2 separate regions of the Homo sapiens genome follow, and region 1 is linked to region 2. Evidence: promoter capture Hi-C in human tissues and cell types (Jung and others, 2019). All regions are on one chromosome and are shown on one strand. Each heading gives the region's core, a stretch centred on a gene start or on the middle of the fragment in contact. The rest is flanking DNA. Distances are from core to core; before and after follow the strand shown. Region 1 holds the start of LOC124903034 (a long non-coding RNA gene). Region 2 holds the start of MSI1 (musashi RNA binding protein 1).

The links. Contacts are between HindIII fragments. The study calls those that stand out against the background at their distance.
Region 1: a fragment that was not itself captured here is called in contact with the fragment with the promoter of MSI1 in region 2 in 2 of the 25 tissues and cell types used here (dorsolateral prefrontal cortex and lymphoblastoid cells).

The regions. Positions count from the first base shown.
Region 1 is chr12:120,215,925-120,222,729 of GRCh38, forward strand. PXN (paxillin) reads right to left here. Exons shown (of 15, transcript NM_001385981.1): 5 at 6,625-6,805; 6 at 5,699-5,834; 7 at 3,283-4,167; 8 at 917-1,192; 9 at 349-657. LOC124903034 (a long non-coding RNA gene) reads left to right here and starts at 4,167. Exons shown (of 3, transcript XR_007063487.1): 1 at 4,167-5,001; 2 at 5,391-6,805. RefSeq lists an enhancer at 80-806. The HindIII fragment of the contact is 5,273 bases long and covers 2,869-6,805 here.
Region 2 is chr12:120,364,185-120,371,623 of GRCh38, forward strand. It overlaps MSI1 (musashi RNA binding protein 1), which reads right to left and starts at 4,980. Exons shown (of 15, transcript NM_002442.4): 1 at 4,849-4,980; 2 at 4,649-4,689; 3 at 4,008-4,089; 4 at 3,824-3,908; 5 at 530-571. The coding sequence starts at 4,907. It also overlaps the pseudogene RPS27P25. RefSeq lists a silencer at 1,543-1,733. The HindIII fragment of the contact is 19,353 bases long and covers 1-7,288 here.

The sequences.
Region 1 (6,805 bases), core at 4,255-6,754, 150 kb before region 2:
CTCACCGGGCGCTGGGCCTGGGGGCTGGAAGGGAGGAGACAGGTTTCTGGTCTCCCTTCTGGAGTGGCTTCTTTCCTCGATGGGAGCCCGGGGCAGTACTGAGGACCAGTCGAGGAAGGAGCAGACATGGGTGGACCCACAGAAAAGCAAGAGGGCAGCGGACCTTCTGAGTGGGGGAAGACCGGGGTCAAGGTTTACGGCAGGACTGTGGTTACTGTGCTGGGGCTTGTAGATGGAGGGATGGAGGGTATCTGTGTATGTGTGTGTGCACGTGTGTGTGTGCAGAGTGGGGGATGGCTCAGGCATTAGGACAGGGGACAGAAAGGGAGGGGCTCCTTTAAGGCCTGCCTGCATCGGGGGGAAGAGCGGGTCCTCATCAGTCTGGCAGCCCACGGACCTCATGGTGTGGGGTGCAGGAATGGGAAGGGCAGGGCCCTGCACCCCCTCATCATGGGGCTCTTCCCCTGCACTCTGGACCCCAGAAGAACCACAGGTATAAGCTGAGGGCCCCAGGGGGGAGGAGGCGAGCAGGCTGGGCAGGGGAGAAGAGCTGCTGGCCGCGGCGTCTGTGCGATGCTGGAGCAAAGGGACAGAAGGAGAAGCCAGGACAGAGATGGTTCTTCTCAGGGGAATGGGAGAGCCAGGAGGGAAGACAACCTGGGGAGAAGAAAGGAGGGAGAGCGATGAGGAAGAAATCGCCAGCTCAGCCCACAGGGGTGGCGGGACCTCCCCAGGCTCCCCCTGGGCCTTCCCACTCTGCACCAAGAGTGGGGCCAGTCTTCCAAAGTCACAGGAGGCAAGAAACCCCCACCCTCTCCCCAGATCTCCCCTCCGGCCAGCACTGGGGCCAGGGAAGAACCCGGACCCCAGGTGCTTGGCTCTGGCCCAGCCCCAGCCATGGGCATCTCCTCGCCACCTTCTCTACGAGCTGCCCCCCGGCCCGCTTCCCACGTGGCTGCACAGTGATGATGACGCCCTCGGTCAGCCAGTCCTGGGCAGAGGGCCCCGCCGCCTCCGCCGGCTCCTCTGCCTCAGGCTGGATGCCCAGCCGCCCCTGCAGCTCCGCGATGAGCTGTTCCTGGGATGGGGTCCTGCTCAAGGTGGCAGGGTCCAGCCGGCGGCGAGGGGAGGGCTCCCGGGACATGGGGTGTGCGTGGCCAGACTCCCAGCTCCTCCTGATCACAGATCGGATCTAGGGGGAGGGGGAGGGGAGGCTGTCACCGTCCCACTCCCAGCTTGCACAACGCTGCTCAGGCCACACTCAGATGCCTCAGGAGAGGGAGCACAAAAGAAAACCACCAAAGAACCAAGCGGAGGTGGGTGGAGGCACGGGGAGGGGGCAGATTGGACCGGTGGAGGTGGGTAGAGGCAAGGGGAGGGGGCAGATCGGACTGGCTCCAGAAGCACAGGCTGCGAGCGAGACCTCTGACCCAGCATTCACCTCTAAGTTGGCCACTGACCTTGGGCAAGACACTTAATTGCCATGGGCCTCAGCTTCCCCTTCCTTAAAATGGAACCACAAGATTTTCTTGGCTTACCGCACAGGGTTTGCACAAGAATTATTCCAGAGGATGTAAGTGCATGCCCTTGACAAGGCATACGGCTTTTTCTTTTTTCTTTTTTTTAATTTATAATAGAAAAAGTGTTTCCTTCCAGGAACTTTTTTTTGGGGGGGGACAGAGTCTCGCTCTGTCGCCCAGGCTGGAATGCAGTGGCGCGATCTGGTCTCACTGCAACCTCCGCCTCCTGGGTTCAAGAGATTCTCCTGCCTCAGCCTCCTGAGTAGCTGGGATTAAAGGCATGCACCACCACGCCTGGCTAATTTTTGTTGTTGTTGTTTTTTGTTTTTTTTTTTAGTAGAGATGGGGTTTCATCATGTTGGTTCGGCTGGTCTCAAACTCCTGACCTCGTGATCTGCCTGCCTCGGCCTCCCAAAGTGCTGGGAATACAGGTGTGAGCCACCGTGCTCAGCTAGCCAGGAACTTTTTTAACTAGTTTTTTTTTTCTTATTTATATTATTATGCTAATATTATATTATGCTATTATACTTGTTGGTAGTGTTTTGGGGGTTTTTGGTTGTTTCGTTTTGTTTTCCAAAGAGGCATAAAGCTTGGGGGATTTTTTTTTTTTTTTTTTTTTGAGACAGTGTCTTGATCTGTTGCTCAGGCTGAATGCAGTGGTGCGATCACAACTCACTGCAGCCTCAAACTCCTGGGCTAAAGCCATCCTCCTGCTTTAGCCTCCCCAGCAGCTGGGACTATAGGCATGTGCAACCACGCCCAGCTAATCTTTAATTTTTTGTAGAGACAGGGTTTCACTGTGTTGCCTAGGCTGGTCTCAAACTCCTGGGCTCAAGCGATCCTCTTGCCTCAGCCTCCCAAAGTGCTAGGATTACAGGTATAAGCTACTGTGCCAGGGTGAGGCATAAAGTTTTTTGTTGTTGTTGTTGTTTTGTTTTTGTTTTTTGAGACCAAGTTTCACTCTTGTTGCCCAGGCTGGAGTGCAATGGTATGATCTTGGCTCACCGCAACCTCTGCGTCCTGGGTTCAAGTGATTCTCCTGCCTCAGCCTCCTGAGTAGCTGGGATTACAGGCATGCGCCACCATGCCCAGCTAATCTTTTTGTATCTTTAGTAGAGATGGGGTTTCTCCATGTTGGTCAGGCTGGCCTCGAACTCCCAACCTCAGGTGATCCGCCCGCCTCGGCCTCCCAAAGTGCTGGGATTACAGGCGTGAGCCACCACACCTGGCCCGGCATAAAGTTTTAATTTAAGCAAAAAGCAAGTAATAAAAGTACTGTCAGCCACGGCCTATTGAGGGACCACATGCTGTGTTCTAAACACTTTCCAGGAATTATCTCATTTAGGTCTCCGGACAATCTTGATGGAAATTCTCCCCACTTTACAGATGAGAAAACTGAGGCTGAGGGAGGGGGTTGCCCAAGGTCACAGAGGTAGCAAGTGTTAGACATGTGGTTTGTATCTAGGTCTATCTGGTTCCAAAGTCCATGCTGCTAACCATTTCACCACATCAGAATGTCAAGGACAGCTCATCTGAAAGGAAAAAGCCTCAACAAGGCAAGAGGTGGGTTGACGCTATGAGAAATGCTGGGTCCACAGAGCCCACTGCCAAGTGCTGACTGTCAGGTCCGGCCACAGTGTCTCAGCATTTTCTGCCCAAGCAGACATGCGCAGAGTGGGAGGCTGCATGCAGTTAGCGAGGAGCGGCCCACACTCAGACCCGCCAATGGCCATGCCCAGCAGCCATGCGAGCTGGTGCCTGCCTGGCCAGAGGTGGAAATCCTCTCCGTGGTGCTGGGTGTGCCCATGGCCATGGCACATGGAAGCTCTGGCTGTTCCTTCCCGTCCTGGGTGGCAGCTTCCGTGGTGCCCTCTGGGCTCCTTGGGGTTTCAGGTCCCTGGGTTGGCCTGGCCACACTTCCCCTCTCGGTCATCTTTGCACCTAGCTGCTCCGTGGTAACTGAGGCAGGGGAGCTGCTTCCCAGCCTCCCTGGCTCTGGCCTTGGCCTCTCCTGCTGTAGGCCATGTTCCTCCGTGAGAGTCCAGGTATCTGGGAAGATGGCCTGCCGGTCCACTGCCACTACAGCTGGCTCTGTTACTTCTTGGAAGCTTCGAGCAGCTCCAGAGGGGGGCATTCTCTCAGGCCCGAATACCTCCGAAGCCCATGGCTGCTCCCATGTGGCAGCCAAGGCCTCCTCTGGGCACGAAGGGCTGGCTGGTGGCCCCTGGGGCTCCCCAGGCTCTTGGAGAGCTGTGCTCCCAGCACAGGGTACAGTGTGGCAGCGGGGAGCCCCAGAGAGCTCACTTGTGATGGTCGGCAGGTGCCTCCAATCTCGACCCTGACTCTCTGTGCCCACTGCCCACAGAGAACCCTCCACAGAGGGAGACCTTGAGTTGAAGGTGTCAGGCATCACCCCAAGACCAGCCAAATCAAGCCAGCTGGGGGCTACAGGAGGTAGAAGGCCTCGTCCACTCTGCTCAGTACAAGGGAACTCCGGAGTGTGGCCCTGGCCTCGAGGGGAGGGTATAGTGGTGGGTGGCAGAAATACAGATGGCATGGGAGGAGGAGAAGGAGGAAGGGAGCAGTATGAGGACGGAGCAGAGCTGGACAGCCCCGGGGCACTCAGAGCCACAGTGGAGGAGCTGGTCTGGAGAAGAGAGAAATGCAGAGGGGAGAGGAGAGAGAGAGATGAGGGGAGTGAGGACGGCTGCACCTTGCAGGCGGTGGGCTCGGCCTTAGGGCTGACCAAGGTGGCTGCAAAGCTGACGCACAGGACTGACCCTTGAAGGAGACCCAGACCCCAAAAAAGCTTCCCTGGGCTTTGCGTGCTTAGCCCTCACCAAACCCAAGCAAGAGAAAGCAGCCACCAAGCCGTGCCTGTGGAGCCACCCAGGGAGGGTATGAGAAAGAAAAGACCACGGTAAGGTGGACAAATGGGGAGCCAGGTGGCTACGGAAGACAGCCCCAGGCACAAATGGAGGGAGAGCCAGCCCCAGGGGCTGCTGAACCCGCCTCGGACACTGGCCCAACTCGGCCATGTCCCTCCGGACAATCCCAGCTTTCCTACACCCCAAGTCCTCTACGTCTTCCACATCCTTGCTCCAGGGATCTGACTAAAACCACTGCTGCTTCTCCTGGCATCAGGACACAGGCTGTCTGAGAAAACGGCAGCCTTAAAAGCACCGGGGCACAGCTCCCTCAGGCCAGGCCCTGAATCCAACTTACTTGCTTCTGACCATGGCTGCTCAGAACCACTGGCCTGGAGCTGGAACTATAGCACGCAAGGGTCACAGGGCCAGGCTCAACCCTCCACCCCAGCCACACTCCTGTCTCCCACCATGAAACCTCAGCTGAAGGGAGGCTAGGAGACACCATCAGGGCCAAGGGTGCAGGGACCGTTCACTCCCCTCTCATATTCCCTAGGTCATGCCCCAAAGGTCTCCAGCTGACCCACGTGGAAGTATGAAGTCAGCAGCTGCTGGTGAGTTCTGTCAATATCAATCCCCAAGGAAACACTGAATCCTCTAAATTAAACATCTCAGGCCTGGCAGGACTGGGGAGGCCCAGCAGGGGAGGGGAAGGGCAGGTACCTCGTGCAAGCCTGGCCCCATGGTTTCCCACAGACACGCTCGTGGGAACTCAGAGGCCCTGGAGGGCGAGAGGGAAGGATGGGAGAAGAGTAGCAAGGGAGGCTTGTGGATTCAGGATCAGAGGCAGAAAGAAAGAGGATGTGTTGAGGACAGCTAGCGTGGGAGATGGGGCTCCAGGGCAAATGACCTCCCAGGCACAGGCTCCCAAGTCCCACATGGCCCAGCAGAGAATGCCCTCCCCCACCCAGAGCAGCCATCAACACAAGGTTCTTTGTCCCAGCGTCCCAGCCTCCTGATCCCCTCGACCTGAGAGGCTGGGAGCACCCAGGGAGGAAGGAATGTCCCAGCTGAGCACTTCTCCAGCTTGTCTGCCTTCACTGGCTACTGCAATCCTCAGGCAGGCTGACCCGGCCCTCCCTCCCCATCTCCTGGCATCACAGCAAGGCCAGGGCATGACAGTGTCCCTGGCTCAGGGGCAAGGCACCCAAACACTGAGATGCCAAGATCCAGCTACCCACACTGAGGTAAGGGAGGAGAAGGATGAGGGAGGGGCGGCAGGGCAGGGAAGATGGAGGGTTCACAGGGCACCTTGAAATCCGACAGCGAAGCCATCAGCTCGTCCAGCTCCCTGGTGGCAGAGGAGGCCGAGATGCGTGTCTGCTGTTGGGTGGAGGTGACGCGCTGCGGGCTGCTCATCTCGCCCTGGTTCACAGTGATGGCAGGGCTGCAGGGTGGGCACAGCATCAGTGGGGAGCCCACAGTCAGCCCCACACTTCCCGGGGATCAGATCGACCTCTCACCTCGGACACTGGGGTCTCACCATCCCCAACCCCAGGGAGGTCCACCAGCTCCCTGTCTCTCCTGGGGACCCATCACTGGGTCAGAAGAAAGGGCAGTTCAATGGCACCAGGAAGTGCCAGGAAGACTCCTCTAGCCCCCAGCCCAAGTGAAAGCTGGCCTGCGAAACAAGCCCAAGCGCCCTGTGTTTCCTCCACAACACTGGACATGGAGGTGAGGCTACTGCAGTAACACGACGGCACTGGTAAGAGCTCGCGTGTTGGGCACTCACCATGTGTGCCACGCACTACACACCAGAAACCATTCCAAGCGCTTTACATGGATTACTGGTTCTCACCCTTACTGAGGTAGGTGGTCTTATCCCAGTGATCCCATAAGTTCTTGTCCCATTTTACAGATGGGAAAACTAAGGCTTGAGAGCTGACAGTAACTGTCAGAGCCAAGATGTGAACCCCACTGTGTGGCCCCAAAGCCTGTGCTAAGAGCTGCTAAGCTCCAGGCGCCCTCAGCCTGCACAACGTCTGTCCTTTCTGACTGGCAGTGACTGGCTGAAGGCAGGGATGGTGTCCATGTGACTCACCACTATCCCCCCAGTGCCTGGCAAATGGCAGACACGGGAGGGAGTGGGTGATACCAGGGCTAAGGGGACAGACACTGGACCCGGGGCAGGCTGGGCCAGCCCTTCCCCACCTGGGGAGGGCCCAGTGGGTACTCACACGGGGCTGGGCACGGAGCTCTCCAGTTCATCCAAGAGACTCTCCACACTGGGCCGCACGTCCTCCAGGCCCCGGCCCCCATTCCGCTTAGGCTTCTCTTTCGTCAGGGGCCCAGCTTTGCCTCCCAAGGGGCTGTTAGTCTCTGGGACACCATAGAGGGGGCTCAGGGCCCCAGGAAGCG
Region 2 (7,439 bases), core at 3,730-6,229:
AGAGCAGCAGGGTAAGAGAGCATTGAGAAAGCAGCCACAGACATCTAAACTGAAAGACAACAGGTGACAGAGTCTGTGGTCCCCTCTGCCTCTGCAAAGGGTGACTGGGGGGATCCAAGGGTAGCTCCCTAGCCTGCCTGTAGCGCGGCCTTAGGGTCTAAGTCTGTCCTGTATTTCACTTCCAGAGGCCTGGACATCAAGGCTGTGGTCTATGATGTTGGAATTAGACTCAGGCTCCAAACTCTACTGGGTTCAAATACAGGACGATGAATCCTCTGAGTAGCTCCCCTTTCTCCCAACACACACAAGCCCCTCTCCAGTCCACCCCAGAGCTCACGTGGAAAGACATATAGTGTCTTCAGGCCACAGAGCAAGGACGTCAAGAATCCCCTCTTCCCAGCCCAGCCCATTCCACAAACACTCCAAGCAGAGGTTCCAGAAGCATCTTCCAGAGCAGGAAATACTGGGAAAATCACTGCCCAGCATTGCCCATAGTAAGAGAGCTCCTCCCAGACATAGACACACCTACCTTGGGCTGTGCTCGCCGAGGGAAGGCCACCTTAGGGTCAATCTACAAGAAAAGGGAGAGGTAGAAGGGGTCTTGGTTATCGCATTTTTAGAAGAGCGACCACACAGCCTTCAGCCCTCAGGACCTCTCTCCTCCCAGGACACAAAGGTGACAGAAATCACAAAAGCCTCTAGGAGGAGAGAATAGTGGTTAAGCATTTATTTTTATTTTTTCTTCAGACAGAGTCTCACTCTATCACCCAGGCTGGAGTGCAGTGGCACGATCTCAGCTCACTGCAACCTCTGCCTCTCGGGTTCAAGTGATTCTCCTGCCTCAGCCTCCCTAGTAGCTGGGATTACAGGTGCGCACCACCACACCCAGCTAATTTTTGTATTTTTAGTAGAGACGGGGTTTCACCATGTTGGCCAGACTGGTTTCAAACTCCTGACCTCAGGTGAGCCGCCCGCCTCAGCCTTCCAAAGTCCCGGGATTACAGGCACGAGTCACCACGCCCAGCCAGTTAAGCATTTAGACCCTAACGTCCCACTGCTGGGTTCAAATCCCATTTGCACTGCTTCCCAGCTGTGAGACCATGGACAAGTTATTTCCCCTCTTTGAACGTCAGGGTCAAGTTCACCTGCAAAATGGGCAAATAATAACACCCACCTCAAAGGGTCATCAGCAGATTATTGGAGATAATGCATACAAAGCATTTGGCATGGTGTCTAGCTCACAGCAAAAACAAAAACAAAAAAAATGTAAGCCGTCTTATTCCTTCAAGTATCAGGTAAATCGAGGGCCTTCCTTGCGTAACTGACTTCACACAGATGACCTATCTAGGTAAGGTATGCAATTCAGGCTTTGGAAACCCTGCAAATGGGAATACTCTTTGTCTGCAAAAGGCTACAAGCTGAGAGTTCATAACCATCAGGAGTAGGCTCAGTTCTGTTTTCGCAGTACTATCAACATCAAATAGCTCTCCTTGAGGCTGTGAGCAAACAGCTCCTTGATAATGCAGCTAGGCTTGGGGCAAGGCAGAGTGCAGTCTTCGGTGACGTGAAAGGGCATGGGACTTGACCTAGAAACTCTGGGCCTCTTGCCAAGCCTGTGATCTTGGTAATGCACTCGAACTCTGTGAGCCTCAGTTCCTTCATCTGCAAAGTGGGGACAATCACACCCGCTTTTCCCAGGGGCAGCTGCGGGGAATCAGATGAGATAACGCGGGTGAAAGCGGCCCTTTGTGAACTGCCCTTCATTGCACAAACAAAGGTGCTATTACCAGCAGGCCACCTTTGCCCTTGGCTGTGAACAACCAGAGGGAAAAATCAAGATGCATCTGGGTGTACTCCTGGGTACTATAGCTGTACGACAAACAGCAAAAGACAGGGCATGAGACGCTGTGATCCATGCAGGGCCTACAGGGCCAGGTCAGGCCAGAGCTTTTTGCCACCCACATGGGTGGACGTCATTCATAAGTTCACCAGCCAATCGCAGGGAAGATCTATCTTTTCCCAAAGTTCCTTCTGTTCAAAACTCAGCCTCGTTCTAGGCAGCTGGCTCTGGCTTCTCTCTGAATGGCACAGACCAGGAACTAGCCTCCTACAGGCTCCCCCACTGGAATCTGTCCACAGAGATGGAACCTCCAAAATCCACACTGGGGCAATGCCTCCTCTCCTGCCAAGTCCCACTGGGCTCCAGGGAAAAATCACAACTGCCCATTTCTCCCGCCTGAAGTTTCAATTCCACACCTCCACGGACATGTCCATCCTTCTCTTTCTCCCAGAAGCAGCCGCCCCAGCCACCAGCGCACCACACACAGTCCCCCTACACAGACCCCGATGGGGAGATGGTACCCAAGCCACGATCCCACAGACCCACGCACACCCCATCCCTGACACACCCCACCTCCACTGTGACTCACAGCTGGCAACATAAATAAAACCCAACAAGTAAATAAAAGGTGAAAGTCAGAGCTCAAAATAGACTCCCCACAGTAAACCTCCCTCCCACCCCCTTTCCCAGGCTGGAGGACGCCAAACACAGACAAAGCCCTGGCCCTTTTCAGCCCCATCTCCTAAGGATGCTCATCTCACCCTCCTTCCTCCCTCATTCTCTTCCCCTTTATCAATCTTCCACTCCTCCATCCCCCAGCCCCTAAATCTCAGCTTCCTCAGCACTGCAGAAGCCATCAGTGCATTCTGAGGACAGGGGATGGTAGCAGAACAGGCAGCTTGATGGCAGATAATCACCAAAAACAATAGGCCACTGTCTCTCCATTTCCAGGCTTGGGTCACTCAGGCTGCGCCAAGAAGATCCTTTCAGAGCCGGCAAAGTTGAGGCCTGGCCTCATTTGCTCATTACTGCGAGCGGGAGCGGGAGCCACTGGGCAGAGATAACAGGAGCTGGGGACAGGCGGTAATTTGACAAATTCTTGGGCACAAGCAGCTATTGTTGCAGGTAAACGGGAGCCAGGGACTGACCCAAGCAGAGAGGCCCAAGGCTGGGGGACAGCAGGGAAGCATGGAGAGAAGAGATCCACACTATCCCTGCCCCCAGCAGACAGACACCCCCATCACATGGGAGTAACCCCCTCCTCTGACTTTTCTACTTTTCCATCTGCCCTGGAGCCAGCGCCCCCTGCAGGGTCTAAGACACGAAGGAGCTGTGGGACAACAGCAAAATGTTCCATGAGTTTGAATGCCAACCAAGCAGCTTCTCCTAAGATCTAGTCTTCCGAAGGGTCGTTTCCAGGCAAGCTAGAGCCTTTCTCATAAATCCCCTCCGTGGGCAAAGCAGGTCCCTGTCTTCCACACAAAGCAAGGAGCTCATTGACCAAAAGTCGGGGGAGGAGGGAAGGAGAGAGGGAGGGGGCTTCAAGGGATGCTTTGCCATTGGTCTGGATGAAGAGGGGGTGTCGCAGAGCCAAATACTAGTTAGAGTTCACAGAAGCCACCGGGTGGGTCAGTGCTACCCTGACTCACCCAATTTGGGCTGGGGGAGGGACCTAGCCCCACCCCAAGCTCTGCTCTGAGGCATCATGATTAGTACTTCTAGGGAGAGGGTGGCGGCTGCCTCTCCCCTCACCAGGACTAGGGGAGGGGGGATGTAGCATCTCATGGCAGGCCAGGGATTTTTCTCCTCCCTCTCCCCCCCAACTCTAGTGACAAAGTTTCAGAGCATGGCAGCCCTCTTACTCAGAAAAACTCCCTCCTTCCTCATGGACCCCGTCCAGCTGTCCCCTGGGGAGAGTCCTGACCCTCTCCTCCGGCAGCCTCCCTCTCCCAAAGGACCCCCGAAGCCCCGAGGGCCACTCACTGTTTTGGAGTCGAGCTCGTGCCGCGATTGCGCCAGCACTTTATCCACCCCCGCCTGGTCCATGAAAGTGACGAAGCCGAAACCCCTGCGCGCCGTAGTGAGGGAGAGGCAGATGGTTACAAGGCAGTGAGTGGCGGGTGGAGGGGGGCGAGCCGGGAGCAGGAGGAGGGGGTGAGGGGCTCACCTGGATCTCTTGGTCAGGGGGTCCCGCATCACCAGACACTCCTTCACCTCCCCGAACTGGCCGAAGTATTCGCGCAGCCCTTCTGTAACCACACACCCGCCTTCGGACCAGCCCGGGCCCCGCGCCCTTCCCCCCCCCCCGTCCTTTGCCCCCGGTGACCCCGGAGCGGCCCGGCCGCCCCCGCGCCAAGCTGCCCGCGCGTTCTCCACTGCCGCCGCCCCCCACCGCCCTCGCCCCGTTCCCGCTGAGCCTCCTGGCGCCCACCGGGGCCCCGGGAAGCCGAGGGCCGAGCTGGGCTGGAAGGGGGACGGCTCCGGCCGGGTTCCCGCCGCTCCGGGAGCAGCCTCACAAAAGTTTGAGCCGCAGGTGCGAGCGGAGTTGGCGCTGCCGCCGGCGGGTCCCGGGGGCCCAGCCCACCCCCCGATACCCCCTGAACCCCTCATCTGCTCCCCTCCACCCGCTGGGCCGGGTGCGCTCGCGGATCGCCCTGCGCTCTCGGGGTCTCCGGGCGGGGCGCGAAAGAGGGCGCGAGGGCGCCCGGGGTCAGCAGGGCGCAGGGCCGGGCTGGGGTGTCCGGGTCCGGGGCGCCGGGGGGTCCGGGGTGCCCTGCCGGACCGGCGGGCGCTCCCGGGCTCGCTCACCCTGCGTAGTCTGCCAACTGAGTCCCCCGATGAACATCTTGCTGCGGGAGGAGGAGAGACACAAAGGGCCCGCGTGAGCGCCGGGCGCCAGGGCGCAGGGGGCGCGGGCCCGGGCTCCGGGGAGGCCCGGCCGGACCCGGATCGGCCATGTTGGCGGGGCCGGGGCGGGCGCGGGCCAAGCAGGCCGGGCCGGGCCGTACCAGGGGTCGTGCGGCGAGTCCGGGGAGGCGAGGCCGGGCTGGGGCGCGTCAGTCTCCATCGGGAGCCGCGGGCGGCGCGGGCAGCGGAGCGGCGGCGGCGGCGGCGGCGGCGGCGCTCGGCGCGGGGCAGATGAGGAGCGCGGCGAAGGGGGCCGGACGGACAGGCCATGCTGCCCCCTCCCCCGACCCCGCTCGGGCGGGCGGGCGGGGACGGCCGAGGGGAGGGCCCGCCGGGGGCCGACCTGCCGGCTCCTCCCCCCGCCGCCCTGCGCGCATAAAGCCCCGCGCTCGCCCGCGAGCCCGGGCGCCCGCGGAGGCGGCGGCGCCGGGACCCCCTTCCCGCGGGGCTCCTGGGTCTCCGGGGCCGAGCGAGACCCCCGAATCCCGGTGCGGGCCGGGACCAGGGCGCGGCCGCACCCCCCACCCACCCCGGCGCGGGGGCCCGGCCGCGGGAACGCCCTCCCGGAATGAAGCGCTTCCCGGTGCCTTCAAGGTAGCTCGGTTCCGGATCGGGAACCCCCCCGGTCTTCCCTCTCAGGTCCCTGCTGTCCAGAATTGAAGAGAACCCCAATCTCCTCGGGTCGGGCGGGAGATAGCCCTAGTGCTCCCCAGTCCCCACATGCTCCATTTCCCCAGTCGGAGCGAGAAGCCGCCCTCAGAGCCCCCAGTTTCCTCCCAACCTAATTTACAGCCCCCCACCCCCACCCCAGGGCTCTAATTTAGAGCCCTCGCTCCGTTCCCAGGATCCCATATCCAGTTTGGGGGACCCACTCAGTGCCTCGCGTCCCGAGTGGGGAACCTCCATCAGCACCCCAGTAGAAACCGTATCCTCTTCCCCAATCCGTCCTCAGCCCTTGGTGTCCAAAGTGAGAGTCCCCCTTAGTTTCCCCAAATCCCTGCCGTCCACATTAGTGGACCCTATGGTCTGTTGAGAAAATCCCGCGCCCCAAGCCCGGGTTCTCAGTTTGCCGCCACCCCCACCTCCCGGTGTGAGGAGTCTCCCCTGGTTCTCTCCCTCCCTGGCCGGTTTTTGTGAGATCCATTCAGACTCCTGTCCTGATTCGGGAAACCCGGTTCCAGACACTCACCACCCCCACCACACCGAGGCTGGAGGAAAAGGCAGTGCCTCTTAGAGCCTCCTGTTTCCAGTTTAGGAGCCCAACGCCTCAGCTGTGCACCGTCCCCTCCGAATGACCCCCTTCTTTTGCAGAGGTCTAAGCTCCACCCCATCCCATTGGAAGAGCCTAAACTACCTACCCACTGCATTTGGAATGACTTCCCTCAGTCCCTCTTATTTTGAGGCTACTCCCCGTGAAGGCAAACACCTTCCTTTCTACCCCCATCTTCTGGGTCTCTGGGATCCCCCAGTACTTGCACCCAAGGCTCCTTGGAGTCACCTTACGTACCCCTAAAATTCCCTCCCTCCAGCCTGGGAACAACCCTGAGAAAGTATTCTGGTTCACCAGGGGAGCTGCGGGGCCACTCTCCTTATCCCCACCTCTCCTTATCCCCGCCTCTCCATATCCCCACCTCTCCATATTCCCACCTCTCCATATCCAAGCCTTAGGACCCTTCACTTCCCCAGCTGAAACCAGCCAAAAAAGGATCAAACCAGGAAGCTTAGGTGGCCAACACCCCTTCTCCCCATCCCTGCTGGGGGTCTCAGTGCCACACAAGCCCCTCCCTCCCAACTCACCTTCTACTCCTTCCCCCATCCCTACCTTAATCCATCCGGTGTAATCCAGTGACAACCCATGTTGACAAGCCCTTTGCTGTTCACCTTCACATTCCATCCTGAATTCAACACCTTTTATTCCTGGGCATCATAACTCTGACCTCTGGAAGGGTGCCCATCCCCCTCTTGATAGCCCTCCTTCCCTCTCCCCACCCCAACCATCAGGCAGAGAAGAAAGTGAGAGACTTACAGTAATGGTTTCCTTGGGGACCTTCTGGGAATGCTCAGCAGGTATATCCTGCCACCCTGTGAGCATAACACTAGAAACAAACTTGCTTTTTCCTGTTTGTGTCCCCTACTCTGCCCCACAGTTTCTCAGCATCCCCTGGACTGGGGACTGGAGGGCCACCCACACAAGGCATTTCTTACCATTCCGACACAAAAGCATTCCAGTTTGTGTTGTAGCAGAGACACAGATGAGGGTGAGCAGGTAGCCTCTGCGGTATTAGGGAGGTGACTCTTCTTAGGTCTGAACTTAAAAAGGGTCATTGGAGAGGTGCGGGGAGTAGGGATCTTCCAGTGTTCCTGGACTTTGGTTTGTGTGCTGGTGCTGCTGGGCAGATGAGCTTGAAGGATAGGAAATGGGTCCTTTCCGGCAGTGGCGACCTACCCACGAGAACATGCCTCTCGACAGGGATCTCCTTCATCCTTCTCCAGAAGAGAAGAGGAAACAGAAGAAGAAACGCCTGGTGCAGAGTCCCGATTCCTACTTCATGGATATGACATGCCCAGGATGCTATAAAATCACCATGGTCTGTAGCCATGCACAAACGGTAGTTTTGTGTGTTGCCTGCTCCACTGTTCTCTGCCAGCCTACAGGAGGAAAAGGAAGGCTACAGAAGGATGTTCCTTCAGG